Linked DNA regions of Homo sapiens: region 1 is linked to region 2. The links are contacts of gene promoters, found by promoter capture Hi-C in human tissues and cell types (Jung and others, 2019). All regions are on one chromosome and are shown on one strand. Each heading gives the region's core, a stretch centred on a gene start or on the middle of the fragment in contact. The rest is flanking DNA. Distances are from core to core; before and after follow the strand shown. Region 1 overlaps LOC105372112 (a long non-coding RNA gene). Region 2 holds the start of C18orf32 (chromosome 18 open reading frame 32).

Region 1 (5,093 bases), core at 547-3,046, 250 kb before region 2:
CTGCTAAATAGATGTCTGAAGCCACAGACTTTAATATTTGGAGCAAAAGACAAAATATTAAAAACTCAGGTAAATGGACTCTTTTTATTTTTTTACTAGAAAAAGTTTGGAAATACCCCTGTGAAAAGGACCCCACAAAGCCTCTTTGCTACTCTCACCCATCAATTCCTCTTCTGGAAGTTTCGCAGGAAGGCATATATTTTGAATCTCAAATGAGAACAGGAAAGAATGATAAATAACCAAAATACCAGGAAACCAGCTTCTCTAATCTGAGGGGCAAAATAGTCTCCAAGAATAATGTCCAAGCCCCCCAGGGAAGACAATTTCTCTCCAAGTAGCTGGAACATGGAATGAACCCTCTGTACAAGGCAACTTCGTATTTCTAAAGACTCAAAGACCAACAGGAGGTGACAAAACTCATGGCAGAATGGCCTGTATTTGGAGCTGTTTCATTTATTGAGGGTTTTCGATGTGAAAGAGTTTGCTAGGTTAGGGCAGCTGTGTTTGAGGACAATGTGCTAGAAGGAAAGCAGATGAACTATAGGAGAAAGGCTGAACTTCATCAGTCCCAAACCCCGTATAACAGCTGACCTACAAGCCACAGCATTGCATTGAGAGCCGGCCCTTTCCTGGGTATACTAGTTTTCTATTGCTGTGTAACAATGACCACAAACTTAGTGTTTAAAACAACACACACATTGATTATCTCCTAGCTTCCATGGATCAGAACTCTGAGTACAGCTTAATTCTGCTCAGGATCTCATGGGGCTGCAATTCAATTGCCCTGTTGGTCGGTGCTGTGGTGGTTTCACCTGAAGTTGTGGTCCCTTCGAAGCTCCTGTGGTTGTTGGTAGAATTCAGTTCTTGCAGCTGTATGACTGAAGCCCTCAGCTCCTAAAGGGCACACAGTTTCTGGCTGTGTGGCCCTCTCCATAGGCAGTTTACAGCGGTGCAATTTACTGCTTCAAGACCAGTAGGAGATTCTGTCTAGCACATGCTAGCAAGATGGAACTACCTATATGTATTACGTATGTATATCTTGTTCTCTTTCCCTCTCTGTATCTTGTGACATAATCGTGGGGGTGGCATCCCATCTACTTTGCCATATTCTAATGGTTAGAAGCAAGTGACAGGTCTTACACTCCAAAGGAAGGGATTATCCAGGGCATGAACATGGGCGCCCCCCAATAGTGTCCATCCATCACACCAGGCTTGTGATCCCCTAACGCAGAGTTTCCCAAGGGGTGTACCTGAAACACTAATCCCATAACAATTATTTTTTTTAAAATGGTATCTGAGTCATACAAGTTTGGAATTGGTGCATGTTCTCTTCACCTCTTGGAGATTCAAAATACACATTAGCATATTAAAGGTACTGAGACTTTCTGGGTATCAATTATGATTGCGCTCAGCAGCAAAAAAAAAAAAAAAAAGCCAGAAAACTTAATGATAATACCTTCAAATGTTGAGTTTTTTAAAAAAGACAAGAAGCTCTGAGAGAGAAAGTTGCTGGCCTGGATTCAATGGGTCAGTCATGTTCGGACAGATGTCACTGTGATTTTCTTGGCTTTCCCTCATAGTTACCACGAGGGCTGCCTCTGTTCTGGCCATCATGTTTGTATTTATAGCACACGGGAGGAGGAAGGAAAAATCCCAAGTTGGTCCTCTCAGTTTCATTCATCATGAAAGCATAAGGTTTCTAAAAACTTTCAACTTCTGCTTCTATCTCATGGTTAGAACAGGATCATGTGGCTATCTGCATGGAAGACTCATGTTCCTATCTGCGAGGAAGACTATGGGAGTAAATATTTAACAATTCTTGCATTGATGGTGAGAAATGGCAAGGGAGATTGGGGTTGAGAGAGCCTTTAGGGGTAGCCAATTATCAGTGTCTGCTTCATGAAATCTTAAAGAAATATGTTTAAATTTTCCACATGATGCTCTAATATGTAACCTCAGAGACACACCTTCAACAATGTTGCTGTAGCCAGAATGTCTTGGAGTGACAGAACCAAGAAAACTAAACTCCTAACTCTTTGGCCTGGACAGCTGACACTGAAGTCTTCTCTGGTTCCTCTCATTCTTGAGAATAGCTCTGGGCTCAACCATGGGGTGAAGGGTAAGCCTCTTGGATGCTTCAATTCATCAGATGTCAGCTGTGCACGACCACAAGCTCAAAAGGATAACCTTCTGCCCTCTCGACTTTGAAACCCCAAGACCCAGAAAACTGCTAGCCCAGCATCCCTTCTTTTCGTGCCACAGCCAAGAAAGCCTCCTCGCCAAAAACCACACCTTGTCACTGGGAAGGGCTCAAGAAAAGCTACTGGGAAGGAAACTGACCCCAGAGTTCACCCGTCTGGTTTCTAATAATAAGCTCTTTCAAACTCTCCCTTTCCTTTATTTCCATTTCCCAGTTTCTCTCTCACTTCTTCTTCTGACCCAAAATGGGTGTCATGAAGTGCCTCCAGTCCCTTTCCTGGTTTTACATCTTCAACAAGATTGATTGACATCCCTTTATCTCCTCTAGCTATGCTTGGCATTTTGGCTGGTGACTGCAAAGTGGAGTCTGTGGAGTACTCTTGGCATATTTCAAATGGTTGCAGATTTTCAGGTATTGTGATGGGGCAACATGGTCTTGTAGAAAGAGAACTTGTTGGGATGTTCAACTCCATCTTAACCAGTGGTGAGACTGTGGGCAAGTCGACAAGAAAAACCTTTGCGTTACAAAGGGGATGCGGGGAGGGGAACCTGGTTCTCCACCCCATGCAGGGTTCCAACAGGAAGTTACCAGTCTAAGAGAGCATTTCTGGAGGCAGCAGATTGCACTTGGAAAAACCTGCCATTGTAAGAAAGGTCGGTGCTCTTAGGGTCAACATTTTGCAGCCTGAGCTCAAGGGCCCACCATCCTCATCCTCAGAAAGAAAAGGCTTCCAAAGGTCAGAGCACCTGCCCATAGTTACATTGATAAGAGCCCAGGTTTTTGGTTATTATTAATTTCTTCTTTGATCACCATTCTCCATCCATGGGAAGGGTTAATGTATTCCTTCTCCACACTAACTCACTGACTCATTCAACATCTATTTATTGAATGCCTGCTGAATAACTCTATAAGCTATAAGTTAGCCCCAAGGAACTTACAATTCAGAGAGGAGACATCTGTGCCGCCAATAACAACACAATCAAATAATGACTGTGATGTTGGGGTAGCAGGTAGCTTATGAGTGGTTTGGGTGGTTGAGCAGGGGTTGTCCACTTGGGCTAGGCCCTTCCAGAAGGGCCTTGATAGCATCTCTAGGGACAAATGATGTCATTCTAAACAGAACCCTCAATGGGCAAAGTGCTGAGCACTGTTGACTGATGGGAGGGGAATGGACTATTCGGTCTGACAGAGTGTCCCTGGGCTTGGCCCTGCAGAGCCTCCTATTTTCTCAATTTTACACTTTCTTGTCATTAGGTCCCCTCTTCCCCCTTTCCTCCACAGACTGTATGAAGGATTGTGAGAACATAAGAGGAGGAATACATAGGTCTCCCAGGAAGGAGCAAAAGGTTCCAGAAGAAGTAGCCCTCTATGTGAAGTGTGAGAACAAGAAGTCACGGTGACGGTGACAAGGAGGAGGCCTGGCAGGGTGTGGTGGCTCATGCCTGTGATGCCAGCACTTTGGGAGGCTGAGGTGGGTGGATCGCTTGAGCTCAGGTGTTTGAGACCAGCCTGAGCAACATGGTGAAACCCCATCTCTACAAAAACATACAAAAAATTAGCTGGGCATGGTGGTGTGCACCTGTAGTCCCAGATACTTGGGAGGCTGAGGTGGGAGGAGGATCACCTGAGCCTGGGAGGTCGAGGCTGTGGTGAGCCATCATAACACTACTGCACTCCAACCTAGGCAACAGAGCAAGATCCTGTTTAAAAAAAAAAAAGGAAAAAGAAAAAATGGAGGCCTTCCTGGGAGAGAGAGCAGCATTGCAGAGACATGGAGGAGGAGAGGGTTAATGTGTTCCAAGAATAGCAAACAGTTTAGTAATGCCCAGGCATCAGGGGCTGCAGGGCTGGGTGGGCAGGAATGCAGGAGGGAGGCTGAGCAGCTCAGCCAGGGTCATATCAAGGGTCTAATGAAGTCTCCCCATATCTGGTCCTATCTCAGTTTTCTGAGCCCGACAAAGTAGACGTAATACTTTCTTATTCTCCATATAGAAATCCTTAGGTATATAAACACAAATGCCAAAGCCCAAAAATATGCATTTTAGAATACTCAGCTCTTCTCCAAGTTAAAAAACCCAGGGTGGCCTATATGGCCAAATGGCCCTGAGCTCATCCCCTGAGGAACTGATTCAAGCTTCTCTACAGGAGCCACTGTGCACAGGCAAGAACTAGCCTGTGGCGAAGGAAGCCAAACAGCCAGTCACCTAAGCAAGGTCAACAAAGGCTGGGGGAAAGCAGTCATTGCTCAGTAGTGTCTTGCCTCCAGCCTCACTCTCATCATTCAGAAGCCTGCTCCAGTGTCCCCTCCCCTTCATAGCTCCCTCACCTCCCCAGACTGAATTCCTTCTTCCTAGGTATGTTTCTGGGCCTTGCATGGACTTGCATAAGTACACATATCACTGTGTCTTATGGTTCACTTAATAACATGTTCTGAGTCTGTAAATTCCTTGAAAGCAGGAACTATGTCCTAATAATCTTTCTCTCGCACAACATAACACAGGGCTTGGTATACAGTAGAAATTCAATAAATATTTATTCAACTAGGCTGAACTTTGGGATCTGGCAAGAGATGCATTAGATGACCATGACGATCAAAAGAACCATGGCTGAAGAATAGGAGTGGAAAATAACTACCGGGGGATGGCCGATTTGGCACCCCAGTGCCAAAGCTACAAAGAGAGAAAATCTGACTCAAATTCGTTATATGAAAAGAATTTCTCATGACTAAAAAGTCCCGGGAGAACTTCAGGTGAAGCTTGATCTGTGAGCTCAAACAATATTACCAGGATTCAGTCTGTGTCTCCTGTGTTTATTCTCTGGGCTGTCTTTATTCTCTGTCTCTATGTGGGGCAAGAGTTGCATGGCAGGTCCAGGCCCTCACTGTCCAGGTTTG
Region 2 (4,756 bases), core at 7-2,506:
GGAAAAGAATGTTGGTTGTCTTTATTAGTGAACATATTTCAAGTGTCCTTACAAGATGGATCAAATGAGGATTTTTTAGGATTAGAACTAGAAACACAAGATTGTTTACCCTGCACCATTAAAAACCATTTTCATGGCTGGGCACAGTGGCTCATTTCTGTAGTCCCAGCACTTTGGGAGGTGGAGGCTGACTGCTTAAGCCCAGCCAGGGCAACATGTCAGAACCCTGTCTGTTAAAAAAAAGTAAGTGTGGTGTCACTTGCATGTAGTCCCAGCTAATTGGGGGGCTGAGGTGGGAGGCTGCAGTGAGCACTACTGCACCCCAGCGTGGGCAAGACAGAACAAGACCCTGTCTCAAAAAAAGTTTCATTATCCCAAAAGGAATTTGCAGTGGTTTTCTTTGCAGAACAATCCAGTATGTGAATATACCAGTTGATCATCCCCAGTTGGAAATGGCTCCATTGAGCATTGCCTTTGAGTATGATAACAGCACTCAGGCTCAGGTTTTGAAGCTTTTTAGGTTGATGCTCAACCTGTATCATTTCGTCAATTGATAAAGGGGTTTTGTTTTTGCTATTAGGAACGATGGTACTGTGAACGTTTGTGTGCAGATTTTTGTGTTTTCATTTATTGAGTATATACTAGAGTGGAATTGCTAGATCATAAGGTTACCTGAGTAAACATCTGAGGAACTTCCAAATATTTCCAAAAAGGCTGCACGCTACATTTCCACCAACGGTTTATGAGGGTCCCAGTTTTCACACAACTTCGCCAACACGTACTGACATCCTAGCGAGCGTCAGTACTTTTCGTTTATAAAGTGATGTAACTGCTTCTTTTAAGCAACTGACGTTTGTAAAGTTGGCCTTAATGTTAGTTTGCTCTGCCCTTGAATTTAAGAAACCAGCAAAACTAATAGCTTATCCACAGTTGCCTCAACGGCCTAGCTGCCACCTTCCGTGTGGGTGCCGCGCCGTTTGCACAGGCATCATCCTTTACCGAGATCCTGCGTTCTGGGTCTGGGTGTAGTCAGGTCAGGCTTTCTTCCCGCAGCGAAGCTTTTAGTTGGGCATCTGGGACGCGCAGGACTTTCGCGCTACCTGCAGGCCGCAGAGCCGGAAGCCTCGCCGCGCCCCTTGGGCAACACTGCTGCGTGCTGTGCGACCCCGGGTTGACGCAAGCGCGCCTTTGTCGTCCCCGTTGAAGGCGCCCATTGGCTCGGCTGCGGATCGTCCCTCCCTCCGGAAGTGCGGACATTGTCAGCTGCGTTTCCGCGGTCGCGGGTGAGTGTGCCCGGGCTAGCGGCCTGGGTTGGGCTTTGTAGCTGCTCCGCAGGCCCAGCCCGGGCCGCGCTCGCAGAGTCCTAGGCGGTGCGCGGCCTCCTGCCTCCTCCCTCCTCGGCGGTCGCGGCCCGCCGGCCTCCGCGGTGCCTGCCTTCGCTCTCAGGGTACCTTCCTTCCGCGAGCGCGCTCCTCCGCCCTCCGCCCCGCCCTCCCCTCCCCTCTGTCTGTATTCTTTGTCCACCACCGGCGCCCTCGGAGCTTGCATTTGCCTCTCCGATACTTTATATTGATTTTGTTCTTTTCCGTGGCCAAGTATCGGTTTCACATCCTTTCTATGACCTTCACCGTTAGGCCTCTGTTCTCGTCTCTTTTCAATCATTGTCATTGACTCAACCTGTCCCCGCTCCCTCTGTCTCCACTAAGATGACATGCTCAACTGGATGACTTGGAGGAAGGTGACTTTCCCTGTTATGCCTTCCCTATTTCGGATGGAGCCTCAGACTTTAACTGTCTACTCTGTTGTCTGGACTTAAGTTGAGTGAAAGAAGATTCCTCTGCAACAGCTTTAATCCGTTTTGCTCGCTTTGTTGGCTTGGAGCGAATAATTAAAATAATAATATCTCGTAGCCACCTTCTAGACTTTTCTGACCCAGTTTCCATATGTGTGAAGTAAAATATCTTACCGAAGTATTATTATGAAGATTAAAAGATAAGATACAAATAGGCTTCATTCCGAAGAGAGCTAAAAAGTCTCTTAAAAGCCGTAATTGTGGCGTAAGTGATTAGTAGTATTTGTCCTCGAGAGTTTATGTACATCGTACTGTGTGCGAACTTACTTAAAACACAATTGCAGAAGTAAAAATGAATCTTTATGATGGAGGGCCTGTCAGTCACTAAACTAGTACTGGTAGCATTGTCAGTTGTTTTGAAGGGGTTTCGTTGGTTTGGAAAGTTTGGTAAAAGTTTGGTAAAAACATGACCATTGTGTTTTTGGAAGAGGAAAAGGCAAGAGCATTGAGGAAAACCAGAACTGGAAATAATGGTCTTAGAAGCTCTAGTTACCAGTTACCTCTGTGAGAACTTTGGACAGGTTACAACTTTTGGATTTTTTTTTTTTTTTAATCTTGAGACAGGGTCTGCCTCTGTGGCCCAGGCTGGAGTCCAGTGGGCCATCATAGCTCACGGCAGTTTCGGCTTTCCTGGGCGCAAGCGGTTCTCTCCTTCCTCAGCTCCCCAAATACCTGGGACTACAGGCGCGTGCCATCACACCTTGCTAATTATTTAAAAAAAAAAATTAGGCCAGGTTCCAGTAATCCCAGCACTTTGGGAGGCCTAGGCGGGAGGATCATTTGAGCTTAGGACTTTAAGATCAGCATGGGCAACACAGTGAGACCTCATCTCTACTAAGAATTAAAAAATCTGTCGGGCATCGTGGCGCAGGGCTGTGGTCCTACCTACTCAGGAGGCTGAGGAAGGGGGATAGCTTGATTCTGGGAAGTCAAGGCTGCAGTGAACTCTGAACACAGGTGGTATGTTTGAGCCACTGCACTTTAGCCTGAGCAACAGAGCAAGACCCTGTCTCAAAAAAAAAAAAATCACTATTGCCCCAGCAATTGATTTTATTTTATTTTATTTTTATTTTTTTTTTTTCTGACACGGAGTTTTGCTCTTGTCACGCAGGCTGGAGTGCAATGGCGCAATCTCAGCTCACTGCGACTTCCGCCTCCCAGGTTCAAGCAATTCTCCTGCCTCAGCCTCCCCAGTAGCTGGGATTACAGGTGCCCACCACCACGCCCAGCTAATTTTTGTATTTTTAGTAGAGACAGGGTTTTGCCATGTTGGCCAGGCTGGTTTCGAACTCCTTACCTAAGATGATCCACCCCCTCGGCCTCCCAAGGTGCTTGGATTACAGGCGTGAGCCACCGCGCCCAGCCTCAATTTACATTTTTGTTTATAGCTCTTGCTTGTAATTCATTTCAAAGACATTCAGATTTGATTCTCTATGCCACCGTTTACCTGTATTGTGAATAATTTTTAAATGTCTAAGCATAGTGATGGTGCTGACTCAGTTGCCAGCAGATGCTACTTAATTTGCAGTATTTTGAAAATAAGAAATCTTTTTTTTGAGACGGAGTTTTGCTCTGTCACCCAGGCTGGAATGCAGTGGCATGATCTTGGCTCACCGCAACCTCTACCTCCCGGGTTCAAGCAATTCTTCCCCCTCAGCCTCCCGAGTAGCTGGGATTACAGGCCTGCTCCACCATGGCTGGCTAATTTTGTGTTTTTAGTAGAGACGGGGTTTCACCATGTTGGTTAGGCTGGTCTCGAACTCCTGACCTCAGGTGATCTGCCCGCCTTGGCCTCCCAAAGTGCTGGGATTACAGGTGTGAGCCACCACACCCGGCTCATTTTTTAAACTCTAAATAGACATAGTAGCAAGGGTACCCAACCTCACTGATTGAGGATTAAATGAGTTGTTATATGTAAACTGTCTAGCACCTACCAAATGTTGTTGTTTTTCCTTTATAATCAAATTCATGATTAAGGAGCAGTGACTGGAAGTTTGGAAGCAGGCACCTCATTATTATTCATGCCTACCACCTATTATTTCTTTATTTTGAGATGGAGTCTTGCTCTGTCACCTAGGCTGGAGTGCAGTGGTGGGATCTCGGCTCACTGCAGCCTCTGCCTCCTGGGTTCAAGCAATTCTGCCTCAGCCTTCCGAGTAGCTGGGATTACAGGCGCATGCCACAACACCCCGCTGATTTTTGTATTTTTAGTAGAGACAGGGTTTCACCATGTTGGCCAGGCTGGTCTCGAACTCCTCACCTCATGATCCACCCGCCTTGGCCTCCCAAAGTGCTGGGATTACAGCCATGAGCCACTGCACCTGGCCTATTTCTTTACCTTGTAGATAGCAGCTTTTTATTTAATAAAGTCTTTTTTTTTTAGCAAATATAATAGTATGTTTTAAGTTTTTCCTACACTGTAGAAATAGTCCTTTCGTGTGTGTGTGTGTGTGTGTGTGTGTGTGTGTGTATATATATATATATATATATTTTTTTTTTTTCTTTTTTTGAGACAAAGTGTCTCTGTGTCATCCAGGCTGGAGAGCAGTGGCATGAACACGGCTCACTGCAGCCTCAACCTCCTGGGCTCTAGTGATCCTCTTGTCCCAGCCACTTATGTAGCTGGGACCACAGGAGTATGCCACCATGCCCAGCTAATTTTTTGATCTTGTAGAGACAAGGTCTCACTTTGTTGTGCAAGTTGGTTTCAAACTCCTGGGCTCAAGCTATCCTCTTGCCTCCCAAAGTGCTGGGATTACAGGCGTGAGCCACCACATCTATCCCCTTTCAGATATCTTAATCTTGGTAAATTCTTTCAGTTACTAATCTGTGATGAACTAATTTTTTTCTTCACATATATCAACAGTTGAGGAGCTCAAGCTTGGGAAAATGGTGTGCATTCCT

What was found. Contacts are between HindIII fragments. The study calls those that stand out against the background at their distance.
Region 1: a contact is called between a fragment that was not itself captured here and the fragment with the promoter of C18orf32 in region 2, in 1 of the 25 tissues and cell types used here (H1 embryonic stem cells).

What each region holds. Positions count from the first base shown.
Region 1 is chr18:49,731,562-49,736,654 of GRCh38, reverse strand. The region is part of intron 3 of LOC105372112 (a long non-coding RNA gene); the gene reads right to left. Among named protein-coding and RNA genes, the nearest start is that of ACAA2, 79 kb to the left of the region's middle. The HindIII fragment of the contact is 5,699 bases long and covers 1-4,645 here.
Region 2 is chr18:49,483,734-49,488,489 of GRCh38, reverse strand. C18orf32 (chromosome 18 open reading frame 32) reads left to right here and starts at 1,256. Exons shown (of 3, transcript NM_001035005.4): 1 at 1,256-1,447; 2 at 4,719-4,756. The coding sequence starts at 4,742. It overlaps RPL17-C18orf32 (RPL17-C18orf32 readthrough), which reads left to right. Exons shown (of 7, transcript NM_001199356.2): 6 at 4,719-4,756. RPL17 (ribosomal protein L17) reads left to right here. Exons shown (of 7, transcript NM_001035006.5): 7 at 1-9. MIR1539 (microRNA 1539) reads right to left here and starts at 1,117; the gene lies at 1,068-1,117. RefSeq lists an enhancer at 1,198-1,357 and a silencer at 1,398-1,527. The HindIII fragment of the contact is 6,566 bases long and covers 786-4,756 here.